Linked DNA regions of Homo sapiens: region 2 is linked to region 1. Evidence: promoter capture Hi-C in 16 types of primary human blood cells and fetal thymus (Javierre and others, 2016). All regions are on one chromosome and are shown on one strand. Each heading gives the region's core, a stretch centred on a gene start or on the middle of the fragment in contact. The rest is flanking DNA. Distances are from core to core; before and after follow the strand shown.

The links. The method cuts DNA at HindIII sites, captures the fragments that hold promoters and counts their contacts. A CHiCAGO score of 5 or more calls a contact.
Region 2: a contact is called between a fragment that was not itself captured here and the fragment with the promoter of PLCB1 in region 1, in 4 of 17 cell types (neutrophils, M1 macrophages, M2 macrophages and 1 more). The highest score is 7.7, in neutrophils.

The regions. Positions count from the first base shown.
Region 1 is chr20:8,129,943-8,133,964 of GRCh38, forward strand. It overlaps PLCB1 (phospholipase C beta 1), which reads left to right and starts at 2,324. Exons shown (of 32, transcript NM_015192.4): 1 at 2,324-2,808. The coding sequence starts at 2,710. RefSeq lists a silencer at 2,410-2,549. The HindIII fragment of the contact is 1,963 bases long and covers 1,014-2,976 here.
Region 2 is chr20:8,723,045-8,727,066 of GRCh38, forward strand. It overlaps PLCB1 (phospholipase C beta 1), which reads left to right. Exons shown (of 32, transcript NM_015192.4): 16 at 1,612-1,708. Among named protein-coding and RNA genes, the nearest start is that of RNU105B, 110 kb to the right of the region's middle. The HindIII fragment of the contact is 7,086 bases long and covers 1-4,022 here.

The sequences.
Region 1 (4,022 bases), core at 1,074-3,573:
TACTTCTTATTTTGCTTAGAGCTCATTGTAACTCTCCAATCTCCTCTTCTAGTGAGCGCAGCCCTGTCTTGCCTTCCTAAGCCACTGTGACAGGTAAAAACTATTTGGCCAATAATCTTTCCAGTAAATAACAAAGAGATAGAAGGAGAAAAGGAAAAGAAAGGAAAGGAAAGGAGGAAAGGAAAGGAAAGGAAAGGAAAGGAAAACAATTTGGTATGATCAGTTGTAAGGACAATTGAGAAGTTCTGGAGCCCTGGAAGCAGAGTTTCATTGCAGTACTCTGAAGTAGAGAAAATCGACTTGAGACGGTGACTGATACCTTCTGTGAGGTAATTAGCAAGCCAAGGCTGCTGGCTAGAGGGACTGTGGACCATTCAGGTTTTAGTTTAGGGACATGTGATCAAAATGAAACCAGTCAGTTTTTCATGAAATTCTTTGTAGCAATTGGCTTCCAAGCACAAGGCAAGACCCTCAAATGACAGCAAGAGTCATGGGTCTTGTTCACCAGGTTATCCATGGTGATTACAATAGTGGCTAGTATACAGCTGGCTACCAATAAGTATATTTTAAATGCATTGAAATATTTAATAGCAAATTTCTGTATTGGATTTTGGTAATCTTTTGACTGAGTTCATAAGCATTGGGCCTTGGAGTCCTGAGGGCAGAGAACAGGGAGAATGAAGGATTAAGAGAATGTAGTGTTTCTCTCCATTTTTCTCTCTTCGTATTCTTTCTTCTTTTTAAAAATCAACCTTTTTGAGATATAATTTATTTAAAACAAACTGCACTCAATTTAGGCGTACTTACAGAACTTACAAGTTTTGATAAACACACACACGATATAGAACATTTCCGACATGCTCATCAGGTGCTCGTAGCCCTTCCCTGTCCATCTCTACCTATCCCTGGCCACAGGCAAGCTTTCTGTCAACATAGAATATCTTGCCTATTCTGCAATTCCTACACATGGAATCAGGCAGCATACAGTCTATCGTGTCCGGCTTCTTTTACAAAGCTTAAAGTCGCGATTCATCCCTGATCTTGCATGCCCACTCATTTTTATTGTGGAATAGTATTCCAATATTTGGGCATACCACAGTTTGTTTATCCATTCACCTGTTGATTGACATTTGCAGGCTACTAAGAAGAAAGTTCTTCACATCACTTTACAAGTCCCTGCAGACTTGAACGTTTTCATTTCTTTTGGACAAATACTTAGGAGTGGAATTTCTAGGTTGTATGATAAGTAAATATCTTACTTTATAAGAAACTATTCTCCAAAGTGGTTTTACTATTTTATATTCCCTCCAGCAATGAACAAGAGTTCCAAGCTATTTCTCTCTCCGCCCCCCCACCTCCCGCGTGTGTCTCTCTCTCTCTCTCTTTCTCTCTCTCACACTCACTCACTCTCTCTCTCCCTCTCCTCTCTCTCCTTAATAAAAAAAAAAAAAGAGTTCCAGTTGCTCCACATCCTTTCAAGCATTTGGTATTACCAGTCTTTAAAATTTTATCCATTCTGGTCCTCCTCTTTCCCTTCTTCCCTCCCTCCCTCCCTTTCTTTCTTGAATTGAGAAATGTTTGTGGAAGGAGTGAAGACAAACATTCCTGGACCTATGTTCCTAAATGAGCAAGTTTCTATTAATAAGACTCTCCCCCACCCGCCACACATCCTACACACTCAAGGAGAGGAGCGGGAGAGGGCACCCTCTTTCTTCCTCGGAAAATAAAACCTTTGCTTTCTTTAGGATGGGCTTTCTGTCTCGAAAGCACAACGTAACCGTTTGCCCGGGTTTCAAGATCAGCGCGCTGCAAACTCTCAGGCGCGGCCAGGTTTCCTCAAAGAGCCTCTCAACTGCGCTCTTCTCTGCTGATAAATGATAATTCTCTTCAAAAAGCTGGTTTGTGGCTGGCGCTGGAGAGCTCCAGCTAGAGCCAAAAGCCAGGGGTTGCCTCTTTGGTTCCTCCCGATGGGCCCCTTTTCCCAGCCAGTTGGGATCCAAAGACGCTCCGGAGCTCGAGCCCAAATTCCCAAGAAAACCCCAAAGAGCGTAAGGCTCCTGGGGACCCCTAGCACCTCTGCAACCAGGGCACGGGGCATGCTCAGAGCGAATGCGGGAGGCAGGCGTTGGCTGCAATGGGGCTCGGGAGCCAGGAGGTGCCGCTGCGTCCCCGCTTCCTGGCGCCTGACCCAGCGTGCAAAGTTGGGCTGGGAGCCGCGGGGGGAAGGAAGGACCCAGCGAGCGAGGGTGGCGGGGAAGGGGGGCGGGGGGGAGGAGGAGGGAGGAGGGAAAAGAGCGGTTAGGGGGGGCGCCGGGCGTGTGTCACTCGCTCTCTCCCTCTGTGTATAGAGGATGTGCTGAATGGTGCGCTTTGAGGCGGCGGCGGCGGAGGAGCAGAATCCGCCGCGACTGGCAGCCTCGGCTGACCGGCTCGGCTTCTCTTCGCCTTCCGAGGCTCCTCATCCACCGCGGGCTCCAGACCTCGCGTCCCGCCCGGGGCATGGCCGGGCGCTGCGCCCCCGCGCGCTCTGCCTGCTGAGCGGCGCCGGAGGGAGGTGCGGAGGCCGGGAGGCCGGGGAGGCCGGCGGGGAGCAGAGTCGAGCGCCTCCGGAGCAGAGAAAGGAGCCCGCGCCCCGCGCCCCGCGCCCCGCGCACGGTCCCCAGTCCCTGCCGCGCTCGCCCGGGCCGCCCGGAGCCCAGATGAGCCCAGATGGCCGGGGCTCAACCCGGAGTGCACGCCTTGCAACTCAAGCCCGTGTGCGTGTCCGACAGCCTCAAGAAGGGCACCAAATTCGTCAAGTGGGATGATGTAAGTATTGGGGCGGCCCGAGTCGGGGCGCTGGCTCGGGCACCGGGCAGGGCGGGCGTCGTGGGGGTGGGGCAAGGGGCGCGTTATGCAATGGGCGCACTGGGAGCGGGCAGGGGCAGCCTCGGGCGCACAGGTTGGCATCTGCCAAAGCGGATGTCCAAGGGCAGAAGCTTTGCGCGCGCTCCTGTTTCATCGGGCTTCAGTAGTTGCCATCCTTTCTGGGTCTGGCAGGCGCCCCCTGAGGGTCTTACATCTTTTGGGCCAGTGGAGAGGGAGGGGCAAGCTTTGCCTGGTGACAGGTCCTGAGAGTTCGGAAAGTAGGGAGTGTGAAGTTGGGACCAACTGGAAAGCGCCTGGTGTGAACAAATCGCGTCCCTCTCCGCCTGCGGACGCACCCCCTATTACCTCTTTTGCCCGATTTCAAGAAGGAAGGACCTGAAGTTCAAAACACTTTAGTGATTGCGAACCCTCTTGGCGCTTTTGTGGGAGCCAAGGCGGCGGAGGACACAACGGTCCAGCCAACAGGTGGTCGTTGATGCCAAACTTCAGCGCCTGGCTCCGGAGTGAGGGTCCCTGAAAAGGGCTGCGGGGACACATCTGGGGAGGGCGTGAACAGAATGGGGGCCCTTGAGGGGTCCTGGAGGGCTCATGGGCCTGCAGGCAAGTGGGGAGGGCTGACTTTTGAGAACTGAGCTGATTGGAGTCTTCTGCCTGAAATAGACAGGTTGAGAGTTTGCCCCACGATTTACCTGCACCGTTTGCCAGGTAGGGCAGAGCCTAGCCCAGCGCCGGGGTCTCTAATGCTTTACGAGCGGCCCAGACCCCAGGACTTCAAATGACTTCCCCTTCCCCTCTACCCCAGTTGTCTTCAAAACACGTAAATTAGTTATCCAGCTGAAAACATGCGAATCTTCGGATGGAGAACATTATGGTATCAGTTTTATGTCCTGGGTGTCATTCTAAAGGTTCGATAAGAAAAACCTACTGAAATAAACCCGAGTTGCCAGGCTCTAAGCAAATTTAAGTCCAAATGACTAATACATCTCTTAATCAGAAGGAATTATAGGAGAATGAGGCGTTCTTCTTGCCGAAAAGATTTTCCACCTAGTAAATTATAGCCTGTTATCCTCTAGGGTATTTTTCTTTAATCTTCTTAAGCCATTTTCCAGTGTCTGAAAACAATTTAAATATTCCAGGTAGTGAATCCAATTACT
Region 2 (4,022 bases), core at 967-3,466, 590 kb after region 1:
TATATTGAATCTGCTTTCAAATTTGTTAGATATGTTCTGTCTCAACGCTTGTAGCTCTACAATTTAGTAAAAATGAAACAAAAAATAAGCTGCTCTTACTTGATGTCCTTCCTCTTAGAATTATTTTTTAATGTCTAAAGTTTTGCTTAATTATGTTCCCTCACTACATTTCAATTTTTGATTTCCAGGAGGAAAACAGCTTACCATGTCTGGCAAAGTATATGTTCCTGAGAATGATTTCAATTGTGTATAATTTCTGATCAGTGATTCTAAATAATTTTTAAACTCTCTTACTAATTGGATAGTCCATTTGCAAATGAATGTTTCCCAGTTAACATTTGACCCAAATATTACTACCAGAATTTTTAAAAGAAACTCATCTCCATGCATTCTCTCTTCTAAAAATGTGAGACAATATTAGATCACTCTACAGAGGCCCATTTTGTGCCAACACTGCATTATTGGTTTTCTTTTTCATTAAAAACTCTATCAAAGTAATATGTCATAGCTAATAATAGCAAAAGCAACATGAGATTGTAGTACCACTTGCCAGGCACTGTTCTAAGCTCCTTCACATAAATTAACTTATTTTTTAATCAAAAACCCCTATATGCTGTAGGAACTGATTTTATCCTAATTTTACAAATGAGTCAAGTGAGGCACAGAGCAATTAAGTAAGTTGCCCAAGGTTGCCCGGTTTCTAACTAGTGGACTTGGGATTCGAAATCAGGCAGGCTGGCTCTAGAACGCGAGCCATTAATCCCTGCACTATGCTTTCCTGCTTGTCTAAGACACATCAGGAGCCAAGAAGGGAGGGAGGGAAGAATGTTGATGAAGGAAAGCAGTTGTTTACCCACCCCTGCCCATTTCCACAAAGCAATCTTTTTATTATTATTATCAATTTTCCCTTCATTTGGTGGTCACCTACCTAACAATTTTCTTATTGTACAGTGAATTCTTAATTTACGAATCCGATGAGAACACATGGACACATAAAGGGACATGGGGCCTACCTGCGGGTGGAGGTGGGAGGAGGGAGAGGATCAGGAAAAATAACTAATGGATGCCAGGCTTAATACCCGGGTGACAAAATAATCTGCACAACAAACCCCAGTGACATAAGTTTATTTATATAAAAAAAAAAACCTGCACGTGTAGCCCTGAATTTAAAATAAATGTTAAAAAAAATTACTAACCTTAGACAACACCTATGGACACCCTGCAATGGAAGATGAGCTATAGCTCAGTGCTTCTCAAACTTTGATGGGCATTCCAATGACCTTAGTAAAATGCAGGATCTGAGTCTGAGGCCTGCAGAGGGGCTAAGATCAGGCATTTCTAAATGGAAAGGAGGGGGCAGGGGATAGGGAGTGATTATGTTGGGGCCATGCTGCCAGCCACCATTCAACCTCCCACCTCCCTTCCTCCCTCCCTTTTATAAAATGAGGTGTTGCTGTTGCCTTTCTCCTGTAATGAATTTTCATTTTGTAATTTTCAGAAAGGGAGGGATGATTTTCTGCATGCTTGAATCATGTTGTCATTTTCCTGGGAAAATAACTGATAATATAATGCTGACTCTGGAAATGTTTTCTTTTTTATTCCTACTTCCAGGGGACTGCTGGAAGTGAGGCTATGGCCACAGAAGAAATGTCTAATCTGGTGAACTATATTCAGCCAGTCAAGTTTGAGTCATTTGAAATTTCAAAAAGTAAGTTTTCCCTGGAGAAAAACCCCTCTTGCAGCATATAATGATTATATTTTAAATACGGAGTAATGGGACCAAAGAATGTTACCCTTAATAGAGAGATTTATGCTTTTGAAGTCTTAAATATATGTACATTTTGACTGCCTTGTTACTTTACACATATAATAAATATGCATGTATTGTAATATATAAAAATAACCATATGAGAAAGTATTCTATGGTGTTCTCCAAAAATATTTAATAGGGCTACAGGCCATACATGGCTATCGGAAAGACACATGACCAGAGTACAACTAATTGGGAATTGTACTTTGCTTTTTGTTCGCAACACACAGTGAGATCCATCTGTTACATAAGTGATAATGTTGAAATAAACTATCTACCTGTTTCCCAGAAGGGAAGCAGGCAGAGACTTGATGAACCCTGATAATTAGAAATAGAACCAATTTATCTATATTCCATTTGTCCATCACATGTATATATTTAGAAGAAAATGCATTAACTTCACATCACTTTGTGTTTTCCCTTTATTCAACTATACATCCATACTTGTGCAAAGAAAAATATCATCTTTACCCAGACAAAAGGGTTCTTTTATGAAAATGCCCCTTGTATTTGCATGAAGCGTAAGATGCTATCAGATTAAGGGAATCCTTGAAACTTACTAGCCACTTATAAGGGTGTACCCTTAAAAACAGAAATTTGCCTAAATGTACTAGCTTCTAATCAAGGATGGCTTTGCAGCTATATCAAAATCCAAGCCTCTACCAAACACGCTTGTTTATATTTGTATAATCTTACAAAAAGTCTTCACTTAGTGGTATATGCAACCTAGATCTCTACAACAAAGAATTCAACTTCCAAGAGTTTATATATAATGATTTCTCAACATTGAATTCGATGTCCTAATTTCTGATGTTTCTTACAAGTTGTTTTCTTTGAAACATCCTAGCGTAGTTATTTTTATATCACTGTAATTTCATTGGCTGCAATGAGTTTCTCTAACTCATTAGTTAAAAGTTCCAAGACAAGTAGCCAAGTGTGAGAAAGAGCCAATATATTTAGATTCTTCAGAACCTGGAAACAACAGCACCAGCTAGACTCACAAACAAGCACTTTTCTCCTTGTGTTTAATATCATTTTATAACCTTGAAAAAAGAATATTCAACATATTTTACCAAGTACCTATTAATGTTGACTGAATTTTAATTAATAGTTATGCTTAATTTAATAAGTCATATAAAGGTAGATTTATGATGGACCAAAATAAGAGAAGCCAAGGTTTGCCTTAGAGTGGATTGGAGAAGGTGAGAAGATGGATGACGAAGCCTGGAAATCATTAAGAAGAACGAGGTTTTAATTTCGAAAGAGAGGTCAAAGAGGGAAAATATCTCAAAGATAACTCAGTTTAAAAAAATTCAGAGCTATATAACCACCCTGTGCTATACTTATCTAAAATACTGCTCATAATTGTTGGTTTTTAGTGGGGATGAGGGTAGAGAAAGTGATTCTCGGTCTTTCTAAACTAAGATAACTTTGTTTTCTTTCTCTCACTCTAATTGGAGGCTTGAATTTCACTTTCAAAATGTTTCTCTTGTGTTTAGCACATCCTCCTCTCTGGCCTCTATTTTATTTTATACTTTATTAGTCCATTCTCGTGCTGCTATGAAGAAATATCCGAGACTGGGTAATTTGTAAAGAAAAGAGGTTTAGTTGACTCACAGTTCTGCATGGCTGGGGAGACCTCAGGAAACAACAATCATGAGGCGGAAGGCACCTCTTCACAGGGCAGCAGGAGAGAGAATGAGTACAGGCAAGGGAAATGCCAGATGCTTATAAAACCATCAGCTCTCATGAGACTAATGCATTATCATGAGAACAACACAGGGGAACCACGCCCATAATTCAATTACCCCCACTTGGTAACCCCCCCTTGACACTGTGGGTATTACAATTCAAGGAGATTTTGTGTGGGGACACACCCAAGCCATATCATGTATCTAATATGAAAATGAAGCCATGAGACTGGAAAATTTCCAAGGACCTTTCTGTTTTGAAAGACCATAATTCTGTCATATTAGTTATTTGAACCAAAAAAGTATATACAAACTGATAAGGTGGCAATGTGGGTATGAAAGAGATAGTCAGCACCTAGCACAAACATTCCCATGGTCTCTTTTGTTAAACCCCATATTGGCCCTAAGAAAAAAATCTGGGTGAATTTAGAACAAAAGATTCCCACGGGGTCCCTGCTCTTTTGACAAATTTTTTTATTGCCACACTATACTCATCTAGAATTCATTCATGTCCCTAAATT